2 separate regions of the Homo sapiens genome follow, and region 2 is linked to region 1. The links are contacts of gene promoters, found by promoter capture Hi-C in human tissues and cell types (Jung and others, 2019). All regions are on one chromosome and are shown on one strand. Each heading gives the region's core, a stretch centred on a gene start or on the middle of the fragment in contact. The rest is flanking DNA. Distances are from core to core; before and after follow the strand shown.

Region 1 (7,078 bases), core at 1,398-3,897:
CTCCATTTTTTTTTCTATTTTTTAAAAGTTATTTTTGCTATTGTAGGTCTTTTACATTTCCCTATGAATTTTAGAATCAGTTTGCCAATTTGTACAAAAAGATAGCCTGCTGGAATTTAGATTGGGGTTGTATTAAATTTATAGATCAACTAAGGAAAAATAACATTTTAACAATTTTGAGTTTTCTGATTCATGAACATATCTATTTATTCAGGTCTCTCACCAATGTTTTGTTGTTTTCAGTGTACAATCTTTCACATCTTTTGTCAGATTTATCTGTTAGTATTTTTTATTTTTGATGCTATTTAGGTGCTGTTTTCATTCCAATTTTCAATTGTTCATTGCTAGTACATTTGACCCTTGAAGAATGTGAGGATTGAGGTACCAACCCCCGAGCAGTAAAAAATTAGCATAGAAAGGTTTTGTGGGTTTCTTTTTGTTTTTTATTTTTGAGACAGAGTCGTGCTGTTTTGCCCGGGCTGGAGTATAATGGCGTGATCTCAGCTCAATGCAACCTCCGCTTCCCGGGTTCAAGTGATTCTCCTGCCTCAGCCTCCAGAGTAGCTGGGATTACAGGCATGCACCACCACCTGCAGCTAATTTTTTGCATTTTTAGTAGAGATAGGGTTTCACCATGTTGGCCAGGCTGGTCTCCAACTCCTGGCCTCCCGTGATACGCCCACCTTGACCTCCCAAAGTGCTGGGACTACAGGTGTGAGCCACCACGCCCAGCACACATAGAATTTTTGACTCCCTAAAAATTTAACTATTAATAGCCTACTGTGCACTAGAAGCCTTACCAATAACAGAAACAGTTGCTTAACACATATTTGGCATGTTATATGTGTTATATACTGTATTATCATAATGAAGTCAGCTAGAGAAAAGAAAATGTTATTAAGAAAATCTTAAGGAAGAGAAAATTAAGTATTCATTAAGTGGAAGTGGATCATGATAAAGGTCTTCCTCTTGATTGTCCTCCATTGAGTAGGCTGAGAAGGAGGAAGAGGTGGGTTGGTTTTGCTGTTTCAGGGGTGGCAGAGGGGGAAGAAGTGGAGGAAGAAGGAGGAGAGACAGGTACACTTGGTGTAACTTTACAGAATTACATCATAATTATTATTTGACTTTTTTGCCTTTGCAATTCTTTGAAAATGCTTTTTTACAGTACTAGTCCTTCTTCCCCATTTGCTTTAGTTTCAGTGCCCATTCATGGAAGGGTTTGTGTTGTAAAATAAGTCAAAAGTAGTCTTAATAATTGGAAGCCTTTGCCAAACTGTTTAATAGGAATTTGTTTTCTGGCATGGCTTCTTCTATGTCTTCTTTAGTATCTGGTACTGATTCAAAAGCACTCATCTCCATCAAGTCATCTTCTGTTGATTCCTCTGGTGTGGTGTCTATTCATTCTTGAATTTCTCACAGATTCATATCTTGAAAGACCATATCCCCCACCTTTTGTTGCTGAATTAGAGATGTTGGGTTTGCAGGCAAGTAGACCACTTTGACACCTTCAGTGTTGAACTCATGGGTTCTGGGTGGCTAGGGGCATTGTCCAAAAATCAAAAGAACTTTGAAAGACCGTCTCTTACTGGCAAGATATTACCTGACTTCAGGGACAAAGTAATGATAGAACCAATCCAGAAAAAGTGTTCTTGCCGAGGCCTTCTTGTACAACAAAAAAACTGGCAGTGGGTATTGATCTTTTCCCTTTAAGGCTTGGAGGCTAGCAGGCTTATGGATGGGGGCAGTCCTATTTGTAAACCCAAACATACAAACATACAAACTATGTCAAAGGCATAGCATGGGTACTGTGAAAGGAGGGTGAAAACACAAAGTTGACATCACCTCTGACCTCAAGGAGTGCTCAGCAGACTGAGAGAGACAAGTACATATTTTCCTGAAGGAGGGCACTGGAGTGATGGCGTGTTTAGAATGTGCAAGTTGAGCGGTCACTGAGAGGCAGCTCAGCAGAGTGCTCTCGCAAGGATTGGGCGGGCAACTTCCCACTGCGTGCGATGTATCTTAGGAAAGCCATTTAAAATAGGAGACGGTTACTTTCCATCAAGTCCCTGGTATGGTCCATGGAAGCAGGGTTGTCAGTCTCATTTCAGCATTTTAGAGGCTTCTCAGGGTTTGGAAATGGAAGAAGAGAAGCAGCAATATGTATGCATTGCAGAGACACAGGCGAGCCCCAATTTAGGAGGTTAGGAGGTCAGTGCTAAGGGCCTTGTTTTCTTTGCTTAGAGCATGAGTTGCCATCTTCTCTGGACAGAGAGTATTTGGTTGCCTAAAGGTAAAATCTAAATTTTGCTCTGGGACAAATTCCAAAAAAAATTAGCTTTAATCAAATTTACTTTTACTTTATCTTTCTGAACCTTCAAGGTCCAAAAGCATTGGTTAATAATTCTGCTTCTAAACTTAACATTGCAGCACAGGGCATGTTCTGCCCCCAAGGCAAAGACCATAAGCTACTGTTGTCTGGAAAACATACAAATAGATATCTCAGCAAAAGCTACTCATATATTCTTGTTCTTTTGGGTAAATCATTGTCAGTGACTGATTTTTTTTTTATGAAAGGATAAAAACACGCCCTCTATTGGGGTCAGGTTTTGTGCTGGTATTTCTCCCACCTACTGTATCATAGGAGCTTAGATTCCCAGCTGCTTGCTCTCAGCTGCAGTTCTCTGATGGCTTGCACAGGGTGGACCAGCCCCCTTCCTCTATGTGTGTGTCTGCTGCTGACCTGTGGCTTTGCCGAGGCAGGGAAGCTACTGGTAGTGCCCATGGATGGGAGCCACTGGTTCACCATGAGGTCGGTGGTGGAGAAACTCATTCTCAGGGGGCATGAGGTGGTTGTAGTCATGCCAGAGGTGAGTTGGCAACTGGGAAGATCACTGAATTGCACAGTGAAGACTTATTCAACTTCATATACCCTGGAGGATCTGGACCGGGAGTTCAAGGCTTTTGCCCATGCTCAATGGAAAGCACAAGTACGAAGTATATATTCTCTATTAATGGGTTCATACAATGACATTTTTGACTTATTTTTTTCAAATTGCAGGAGTTTGTTTAAAGACAAAAAATTAGTAGAATACTTAAAGGAGAGTTCTTTTGATGCAGTGTTTCTCGATCCTTTTGATAACTGTGGCTTAATTGTTGCCAAATATTTCTCCCTCCCCTCCGTGGTCTTCGCCAGGGGAATACTTTGCCACTATCTTGAAGAAGGTGCACAGTGCCCTGCTCCTCTTTCCTATGTCCCCAGAATTCTCTTAGGGTTCTCAGATGCCATGACTTTCAAGGAGAGAGTACGGAACCACATCATGCACTTGGAGGAACATTTATTATGCCACCGTTTTTTCAAAAATGCCCTAGAAATAGCCTCTGAAATTCTCCAAACACCTGTTACGGAGTATGATCTCTACAGCCACACATCAATTTGGTTGTTGCGAACGGACTTTGTTTTGGACTATCCCAAACCCGTGATGCCCAACATGATCTTCATTGGTGGTATCAACTGCCATCAGGGAAAGCCGTTGCCTATGGTAAGTTATCTCTCCTTTAGCACCTTAAGAATACTTCACCTTTGGAAATTAAAAAAGGATTCTTTACTGAACTGTGATTTGACATTTTCATTTGTTTCATTTCAAATTTCTTTCCAGTTTAACAAATTATTTTGTGCCAATGCGTGTACTCGTCAGTAGCAAATTTTATAAAACTGCCCTTCTTGAAGATATGTATTTATAACTTATAAAATTGTGGAACATATTCAGCCTACATTTTTAAGTACCATGTTTAGAAAAGTACCAAAAACCACAGTAAGAAATGAAACTTCCCTTTTTTGTTAATTCTATATGCCCGCCCCAGAGGAAATGGTCTTAGTTTTGTGAACATTCTTTTAATGTTTTTAAAAAAGTACTTTAGGTATATACAATATCTAATGTAAATTCTCACACCTATTTTGTTAAAATAAAATCTAGTATTGGGCTGGACATATTCTTCTTTTCTTTGCATTTTTCACTTGCCAATAAATTATAAATACCTTTATAGACCAATACAGACAGATTTGACAAGTTCTATTAATAATTGCATAAAATACTTTACTTTGGATGCAATGTAGTTTTTAACCAATTAATATTGATATAGATTTAGGCATTTTGCATTTTTTGTCTTTATGAATAGGGCCGTGTAAACACTCTTTAATACTTTCCTTACATGAATATATTTCCATATTCTTGCTTTTATCTTAGTTGACTAGAGCCCTACATGTAGGGTTACAGGATTTCCATGAATTGAGAAGGATTGGCATTTTTTTGCTATTGTGTCTTCCTGTTCAGGAATATGTATGTCTCACTATTTATTCAGATCTTGTTTTATATACATAAATAAAATTTTTCACTATATAAGCATTTTCTGTTTCTTATTAACATTTATTCCTCAGCATTTCATTATTTTTGAAACTATTGGGTACAGGACAATTTTTCCATTTCTACATGTAACTGACTATGGGTAATTAAGGTTTTGTTTTTTGCATATGTATCTTGTATCCAGCCACATTACTAACTTATCTTATTATTTTGTAGTATACAGTAGATGTACAATATACAATGTCAACTGCAAAGAATTCCCTTCTCTGATATTTATACCACTTATTTTGCTTTGCTGGAGCTTATACTTCCAAAGCACTATTGAGTAATATTGTGAGAGTAGCCAGTTTAAATTTTAAATAGGGATTCAATCACTTGTGATTGAAAAGTCCATGACAAATACCAGAATAACATTCTTAGCAAATGTGTAGTTGGCTGAATCCAGATTAAACACCTAATGTCTAATCTCAGTATATTATTTTGGAGGGATGGAGTATACAATTTATCTATTGTTCTGGCTCCTTACAAGGTTCAGTAGACTTGGTAACACAGTCATATTCTCTCACATATTGGCAGATGTTTGGTGAAAGAGTGACTGTTCAGCCAACTCATGGGAAAGTGAAATAATGCTCTTTCTAAAAAGCAGGAGGACTACAGTTGTAGGCCTTTCAAAATTAGGCATGACTTTCGGATCTTCACAAGACTAGGCTAGGAGATGCAAATGGCAGAAATCTAAGAGGTTAGACTTGTCTAAGCACTTTTCTCCCCTTTACCCTCCATAAATTATAGTATCCTCCATTAATTGTAGTAACAGGCACCACTTATGTGTTGCCTGCACCCCACAACCTTTGGCTGAGGGTAAGGCCCTGCCACTTCCTGAACCCACACTGAATTTATTGTGCCTCACAGCGTCACCCAGAGGCCTTTAGAGATATAAAAACCTATATATGATTTTATATCACCTATGATAGAGGGTTATCTATAAAATATGAAACATCAAACTATATATGGTTTCATTTATTTTGATTATAAATATCTTTTATGAGATATGAAATAAATGTGTTTATGTGTCTATTAAAGAATATGGATGTATGAAAGTTTTTATACTTGTGGAAGATTACATATATTAATGTATGTATTTATGACTATACGTGTAAAGCCAGCGGAGTTCTCACAGAGGAATTCAGAACTCAAAGAAGGCTTTCCGGCAAAGAGCCTTGGATATGGCCCAACCACAGAAGTAAATTGTCATTGACAGAAGGATGGACACTTCATATTGCTCCTTCCTTGTTTCAGATGCCAGGATGTGTCTGGGAAAAGCATGCAGTTGGTTACATCTTGCTGGGAAACAGGATTCAGAGTCTGTGTCTTATCTGTCTGATGAGAAGGAAGCATTACTTGATGATGGAGTATGTGTTTGCACATGTATGTGTTTGTGTATGTGCAGGTGTGTTTGTGTGCAGTGTCCCAGACCCTGCATAGGGGATTTTCTTGAAGGTCTCCTGTAACAAAATCTCCTTGAGGCTATCCAGGGGAATTACATCCAGGGATGTAATTAAATACTTTAACAAGGATGGCAGATGGCCCCGTCTTCAATGTCAGGGATCAAATTTCAACGTGAGATTTGGAGGGGACAAACTTCTAAACTATATCATTCCGTGTGGTCATTCTTTTACATTCCAGCGTTCTAATGTGTGTGTGTTGATTAATGATGTGTAAATAATTCAGCAGAACATTGAAATAGTTTTAATGGCAAAAAGAGGAGGTCCCTAGTCTTTTTGAATTTTTGATGAGTTCCAACAGAATTAATGACTGGTTTTAGGTGAAAAGAATTCAGGCTTTGTCTATACCATCCATGGCAGGTGCGGCTCTGGGGGTGGGATATGGTTACAGATAAATAAGAGATCTGTGCTTCCCCCCTTGCTGTAAGATTCTGGCTATAGTCCAAGATCCAAATTCAAAGTTAGCTTTTGGTGGACAAGACTAAGGCCTCCCACTAAAATTATTTACTTCAAGTTTTTATTTTCAAAGTTTTCAAACATACACAATGGAGAGACTCAGTGTAATGAGCACCCACTTATCCATTCTTAGGTTAAATAATTTTCACTATTTTGCTCTACTAATTCATCTATCCCTTTATTCTATCTTTTTAAAGAAAACTTTTAAAAATAAATTTGTATGTTTTTAAAAAGAAATTCTTGGCATGTCATTCCATCACTGAACAATTCATTTAATATAAAAAATAAGAAAAATTTGTTACATAGCCACAATATCATTATCATATCTAAGACAATAAAAATTCTTTAATATTATCTCATTTACAGTCCATAATAAAATTTCCCCGGATTGTCTCACACAACATCTTTCCATACAGATCAATGGAATAGAATGGAGAATTCAGAAATAAACCCATACATATACATCCTTGGCCAATTGACTAGGTGCCAAAGTTTGACAAGTGTGTCAAGATCATTCAAATGGGAAAGAATAGTCTTTTCAACAGAAGACCCACCCTGGGGTCCTTGAGCTCCAGCGTCAGACTCCAAAACCATTTGTGGAAATCATCCAGCCACCTCCCACCATGCCTCTGATGAATCCTTCACCGATGGATTCATCAGAAGCATGGTTGATGATGAATTCACTGATGAATCACCCCTGTGTGCATCCACAGGGGTCCTGCAAATATTTTCTCACAGTCTGTTGAGTGACTTTTCTTA
Region 2 (7,078 bases), core at 3,258-5,757, 170 kb before region 1:
CAAGGCTGGTCTTGAATTCCTGAGCTCAAGCGATTTGCCTGCATTGGCCTCCTAAAGTACTGGAATTACAGGCATCAGGCACCGTGCCTAGCCTACCTTTTATCTCTTAATAAACCTATTAAAATTCTTCAGTAACAAAAAATGAGGTGGGAAAAGCTAGCACACTTCAGTGTGTGCAAGTGTGTGTGTATATTAAAAAGCAAAGGCCTTTGGAAGGATGCAGAGAAAAGCAGCTGCCTGTCGGGGAGAGGACACTGGGTGGCTGGACCCAGAGACAGTAGGGACACTTGCTTTTCCTGGCCCAGCTTTTCATAACACCTGGAATTTTGTATTATGAGTATTGCCTATTCAAAAATTAACTTTAAAGATCATTGTACAAAATATAATAGAATTCTACAAAGTTACGAAAATGAATAAGGTAGGTGTGTATGTGCTGATATGAGGAGCTCCGCAAGATACAGTAAGTGAATAAAAGCAAACAAAACAAGTGTAAAACAATGTAGCGAATACATTAAAAAGGATATGCACATATTTGCCTTCAGCAAACAAATATGTGTAATGTTTTTCTTAGAAGGATACAGGAGGAAAAATCAGCTAACTGTGGCTCTCTCTGCAGAGAAAAGGTGTAGGAGTGATTTCTGCTTTTCATTTCAAGCTTTCTGTACTGTCTGACTTTTCTAATCATAAGCAAACAGTTATCTGAGTCTTGGAGTTTGGGGCCATTTGTTTCTCTTTTGGGTTCACTTTTACGTGCATCCTCAGTTTAAAAGAAACGATACTGGTTTTAGAAAGTAGTGCTATGCGATGCTTACGAAAGGGCAGTGAAATGAGCCCTCTCATATGCTACTGCATAGAACATCAAGGCTTTCAAGAGGTCACACCTTTGGACTTAGGAATTCCACATTTAGAACTATTTTCTGAAGGACTTATTTCAGTACTATTTATAAAAACAAAATGTTAAAAACACGGTAAGTTTCCAACAATGAGGATATAGATCAATTAAATTAGTAAAACATTACCTTGGATATGATGATTATTTTTGGATTTTATGAGAAGGTTAAAATGTCAAATATAAAAAGTAGGAAATAAAAATGTTACATATAATTGATTTTAATTTTGTGTGAGAATATTTACAAGTTAGGAAACATATCTGATTGATAGCATTTGGGGAAAGTTCTCCCTTCTCTTTATGACTGTCTGAATTTCCCCATTTTCCCTAAATGAGGCTGTATCATCTCTGTAATCAGATAACAATTATTACTTAAGAGTTGTCTATTCAGAAGTAAAATCTTACCAGAGGAGGAAGTTGTCCTTCAATTAAAAGCAAAGTATCTCCAGAACATATCAGAAGTTCTTTCAGTGTTGCATCCTGGGAAGACAAAAATGCTTTTTTGTCACTTATGACTTCTGAAAGGAGCAGATCATTGATCTTTTTAAAACCCCATGCCTCTATTATCTTTTCAAAAATTAAATGAATAATAAAGCAGATATGGAAGACACAGGAAATAAGCTAAGACTATAAAATCAGTACAGCATTATTTGTTAAATTGTGGGGCATAAGCTGTAAGTCTGACAGAAGAACTGAGGCAAGGGAGTTAGATGAGATGAGAAATGAGAAACTGATTTACAGAAGATGAAATTTTAATTAATCCTAAAAAGATGGGTTGGATTTGGAAAGCTAGAGAAAATAACAGAAGGAATTTCTCACGAAAAAAAGGACAAGGGCTAAGTTAAGGTTGATAGTAAATATGGCTTGTTTTGGTAAAGCGCTAAAGCCACACTGATTCGAGTGGAAAGTACCAGGAGGTCACACCGGACTGGAAGGGCAGGCACTAACCACAGGACATGGAATAGAAATAAAGGAGCCACACAAGATTTCTGAGGAGATTTTCCAGATCAATCTGGCTGCAATATGCATGACATTGAAGCAGGGAACGCCTGGGCCCAGGAAAGCCATAATAATTTAGGTGAGAGGCATACGAAGGCTTGGACCTGGAGCCAAGCATGGGAATGGTCAGGGAAGGGGTGGAAAAGCTGACAGTTTGGAGGCTGAGAGGAAACATGAAGAATGAAAGATAAGGAGGATATTTTACTCTTGAAGATTAGGATGGGAAAGATACCTGGCAAGGCTGGAACGAGAAGCCAGTTCCAAGGGTAATGAGTTGGCTTCTGGCTGAATTCTTTGATGCCAATTTGGGAATTAATAGAGAAGAAAATGCTGAAGCTATTTGGGTAAATATATTCTTCTGACATCCAAATTTTATGTCCTAAAGATGCTTTGAGGTCCACTTCTTACTCCAGGCAGTCAAACTCCTGCCCAGGCCCCAAGAGGGGCCTCTTGCTATTGACTTACTGACTGCTAAACAGCAAAGAGCATTCCAGGGCAAGGCCCCAGCATACCTCCCTAAATCAACCTTCTGCTGGCATTCAGTGCCCCTTCTTAAAGAACAGGAAGTAGGCAGGTGAAGACTGGGGAAAGGGCGGCTGACCACAGCTCCCTCAGACTCCCCACAGAGCTTTATTTTGGGTCTTCTTCTAAGGCTACGCATTTGAACTGGGAAATATCATGCTATTTGGACCAACAAGATGACCAACTAGATTCCAACTCTCCTGTGATAAAATTATTCCTAAGGCTACCCTAACAGTTTGGCTGGATCGAGAGTTTGGACCAAAGCCTAACTTAGGAATGGTTAGTAAGAAATTCTGCCACCATTACCTTACAGAGAAACTCTGAGATCAAAACATTCAGGGGCCAAAACTTCAGAGTGTATCTATAAAATTCCTTCATGAGCTCAAATGTCATTTGTTCTGTGAAGTTCTCTGCCTTCTCATGAACTGCTCCTCCTAGAGGCATACTCTCATGGCAAGGGGGTTTACCACAGATGTCAGAAATGTTCCCACTGCACTGTGACTTCCCCTTTATCAAAAAACTATAGTAAGAAAAAAGTAAAATAGACCCATTCATAGATATTTGTATCCTATAGAAAGTAATTAAAGCTTTCTCATGAGTGGAATGGGTACCTTGTACGAAAATATGACATAAATGTAATCATACGAAAGTACAATGTATAGAAATCATCTTACTTCTTCACATAAAGGCTCTCCAGCTTCATAGCACCAATCCATTTTTCGTAAATGCCAGGCATCTCCTATAAAGGAGTCAAAATTGGGATAAAAAAAATTCAAAGTTAGGTGAGACGTTGCGTGTAACTTCTAGAAGAATGTCTTGCACCCAGAGCACCTTAACTTCCTTTCCAGATAATAAAGCTATGGGCCTCCATGTTAATGAAGTCTGAGAACAGCAAAGTGTGCTACTGAAATCAGAATGAGGTCTCATCAAGCTCACTGACATGATCTCACCTGGAAAGTTGCTTCAGTTATCTTAGATTTATTTTTTTCATTCATTTTACATTCCGTCATCTATACCACAAAAATACTGACATGAAACAGAATGCACTGAAATTTGGAATCAATAAAATTGAAAGGAATCAGTGGAAGACCTGCGTGGCTCCAGGTGGTATACATCTTAGCGTTCTTTTTATTTTAAGTTCTGGGGTACATGTGCAGGATGTGCAGGCCTGTTACACAGGTAAACGTGTGCCATGGTGGTTTGCTGCACCTATCAACTCATCACCTAGGTATTAAGCCCAGAATGTATTAGCAATTTTTCCTGATGCTCTCCCTCCCCCACTCCCACCCCCCCATACACCAACAGGCCCCAATGTGTGTTATTCCCCTCCCTGTGTCCATGTGTTCTCATTGTTTGGCTCCCACTTATAAGTAAGAACATGTGGTGTCTAGTTTTCTGTTCCTGCATTAGTTTGCTGAGGATAATGACTTCCAGCTCCATCCATGACCCTGCAAAGGACATGATCTCATTCCTTTCTATGGCTGCACAGTATTCCATGGTATATATGTACCATATTTTCTTTATCCAGTCTATTACTGATGGGCATTTGGGTTGATTCCATGTCTTTGCTATTGTGAACAGTGCTGCAATGAACATACATGTGCATGTATCTTTATAATAGAATACTTTATATTCCTTTGGGTATATACCCAGTAATGGGATTGCTGGATCAATGGCATTTCTGGTTCTAGGTCTTTGAGGAGTTGCCACACTGTCTTCCACAATGGTTGACCTAATTTACATTCCCACCAACACTGTAAAACATTCCTACTTTGTACCTTTGCTGGATCCTATCTAAATTCTCTACTCAGAGCTATACCATTAGTTTTCTTTCAGCATGCCAACAAGAACCAGGAGAATTCATTATGTACATATGGAAGTGTAAACTACTTTTTATTTCTCCACACCCTATAAATTTTTTTTTCCTACAACCCTGGAGAAAAAAAAAGTCAAAAAAATTTTTATTAGGCTTTTAAGTAATATGTCATCATGGTAAGTAACTTACCTTGTAGGCCAGATTTCTTCAGCATTAACTTTAAACACTGTAAAGAAAAACAATGTCCAATGTTAGTTTTCTGTTTCTGAGTTACAGTTCTAGGACAAACACCCTTTTTGGACCCTAGGCCTATTTAAGTCTGACTATATTTAATGATTCTTGAATAGGCAAGGATAGACATAGTTAAGAAGATAATACACGAGTCAGCTTTCCTTTCTAAAGGCTAGATGGGGCCAATTCAGGAAGAGGAAAAAGCAGTTTCTGGTGTTTGCAAGCAGGACTTAGTTCAAAGTTTCATCCACCAACTCCCAGGTTTGAACCATGACTTTCTTCCTGTAAGGATTAACTGTGTGTCTTTGGCCAGATATGATTAATCAAGTTAATTTCATAGACATTAAACTCTGAATCCTATAAAAGGCGAGATTGATAGCATTTGGGGAAAGTTCTCCCTTCTCTCTTCTCTTTATGACTGTCTGAATTTCCCCGTTTTCCCTAAATATAAAAACTCACAAGAATTGTGCAAGCTGTGATGTCATGGCATAATGCAAAAATGAGACAATATTAACAAAAGTTTAAATAAAACAAAAATAGTAATTAAAACAATTTCTTGAGGGAAAAACATTGCTAATTAAATCTTGGACAAGCGAGCAAATACAATTTGATTTCTATTACACTAGAGCAAAAGAGAGCAAAAATAAGGAAGTCACTGCTGTACTGTTTGTAATAAAAGAAAAATGGCAAAAAAAACCCCACCAAAATACACATTAATGGGAGATTTTTTAAAAAGTAGGAAATGTCTTAAAGCAGTTCAAAGAAAAAAACAGATTCATATATATTGGTCTTAAAAGATCTTTAAAATATTTTAAGTGAAACAAAGTTCTAGTATAATACATGCAAAGTGATCCCATTTATAATTTAAAAGAAATCACAGAAGCAAAGCACACTCTTCATTTCTATATGTATGTATATAGACACATGCTGGTATAGGCACAGCAAAGGTCTGGAGGGACACATACTCTGCTGATGTGGATAAGATGATGTTATCTGATTGCAACAGTGACTTCTAGAGAAAGGACTAGAATAGAGTGGTAACCAAGGGGGATTGTTAATCCCCTAGAAGTTTAAAAAGTGAGAAGAAATCCATGATTACTTGTATGACAAAAAATAAGGCTTTAAAATATAATTATAGATTGTTTAGAAAATGATGATAAAAACACAGTATACTAAAATATGGTGGATGAATGAAAGCAAGCTTATATTCTAAGAAAACTTAAAGCCTTAAACATTGTATTTAAGAAAAACAATCAAACAATTGAGCAATCAACTTAATTGTGTTTTAGGAAGGGGAAATAGAGAGCATAAAAGCCTTATTTCAGAAACAGCAAGAAGGCCAGTGTGGCTGAAGCACAGTGAGTAAGAGGGGGAAATGGTTGGAGGTTTGAAAATATAACAAAAATGATACCAGAGAACCAGATCACATAGGCCCTTGTGCAGACATTCAAGACTTCACCTCTTACTCTGGGTAAAATGGGAAACCACAGGAGGGTTGTGAGTATAGGAGTGACTAATCTCTCTTACATTTTAAAGGATCACTCAACTTTTTATAAGAACAGACCCTGGGAAGTGCAAGGCTATAAGGAAGGAGATCAGTTAGGAAGCTGATGGATGAAATTCATTTCAGATGAAAAAGATGACAGGTTTGACAGGGTGGTAGTAATGAACAGAATGAGATGTGGTCAGATCCTAGATGCATTTTGATGGTAGAACCAAAAGATGTCCTTGTGAAACTGAATGTGAAGTAAGAAAGAGAAGAATCAAGGATGACTTCAAGGCTTTCAGCCTAAGCAAGTAAAAAATGGAGTTGCCATTAACTGAAAAAGAGAAAAATATGAGCGGGTTATGTTTCAGGGAGAATAAGAAGAGCTTTACTGTGAATATGTTCTAGGTTTGGATGATTGTTAGACAACCAAGTGGCAGCTGGATGTTCTGGGCCGAGGTCCAATCTAAGAACTGGGCAGCAGAATGCTCAAAGATAGAGAAGAGGAGGAGACAGCAAACTGAGAAGGGTAGGCCAGTGGGATATAAGGAAAACCTGGAGTTGTGGTCTTCTGGAGCCCAGTGACAAAAGTGTTTCAAAGAATAGAGTCATCAGGTACATCGAATGTTGGTGATAGAGCAAGTAACATGAAGAGTAAAAACTGCTCACTGGACATAGTAATGTGGAGGCCACTAATGACCCTGACATAAGCTGTTTCAGTGACATAGCAAGGAACAAGTCTGCCTGCAAGGGGTTCAACGGAGTACAGAAAGGAAGATACATCACTTTTGAAAAGTTTTGTGGTTTCTTTCCTTGAAATTAAAAAATGTAAAGTTAAAAAGGCCAGTAAAAAACTGGGAAAATACCTGCAGAAAATAGTAAAATGATCCTCAAATACCCATCACCCAGTCCCAATTACAGGTTGAGTATCCCTTATTTGAAATACTTAGGACTGGAAGTGTTGGATTTAAAAAAAATTTTTGGAATATCTGCATTATACTTACCAGCTAAGTAACCTCAATCCAAAAATCTAAATATGAAATGCTCCAATGAATATTTTCTTTGAGTGTCATGTCAAAGGGTCAAAAAGTGCTCAAAAAGTTTTGGATTTTGCAATCTGGCAGTGGCCCTGCCT

Evidence for each region. Contacts are between HindIII fragments. The study calls those that stand out against the background at their distance.
Region 2: a fragment that was not itself captured here is called in contact with the fragment with the promoter of UGT1A9 in region 1 in 3 of the 25 tissues and cell types used here (H1 embryonic stem cells, mesendoderm cells and thymus).

The regions. Positions count from the first base shown.
Region 1 is chr2:233,669,251-233,676,328 of GRCh38, forward strand. UGT1A9 (UDP glucuronosyltransferase family 1 member A9) reads left to right here and starts at 2,648. Exons shown (of 5, transcript NM_021027.3): 1 at 2,648-3,539. The coding sequence starts at 2,685. The region is part of intron 1 of UGT1A8 (UDP glucuronosyltransferase family 1 member A8); the gene reads left to right. The region is part of intron 1 of UGT1A10 (UDP glucuronosyltransferase family 1 member A10); the gene reads left to right. It also overlaps UGT1A. The HindIII fragment of the contact is 24,288 bases long and covers 1-7,078 here.
Region 2 is chr2:233,495,464-233,502,541 of GRCh38, forward strand. It overlaps USP40 (ubiquitin specific peptidase 40), which reads right to left. Exons shown (of 32, transcript NM_001365479.2): 22 at 4,416-4,452; 23 at 3,085-3,149; 24 at 1,295-1,369. Among named protein-coding and RNA genes, the nearest start is that of USP40, 68 kb to the right of the region's middle. The HindIII fragment of the contact is 5,362 bases long and covers 1,827-7,078 here.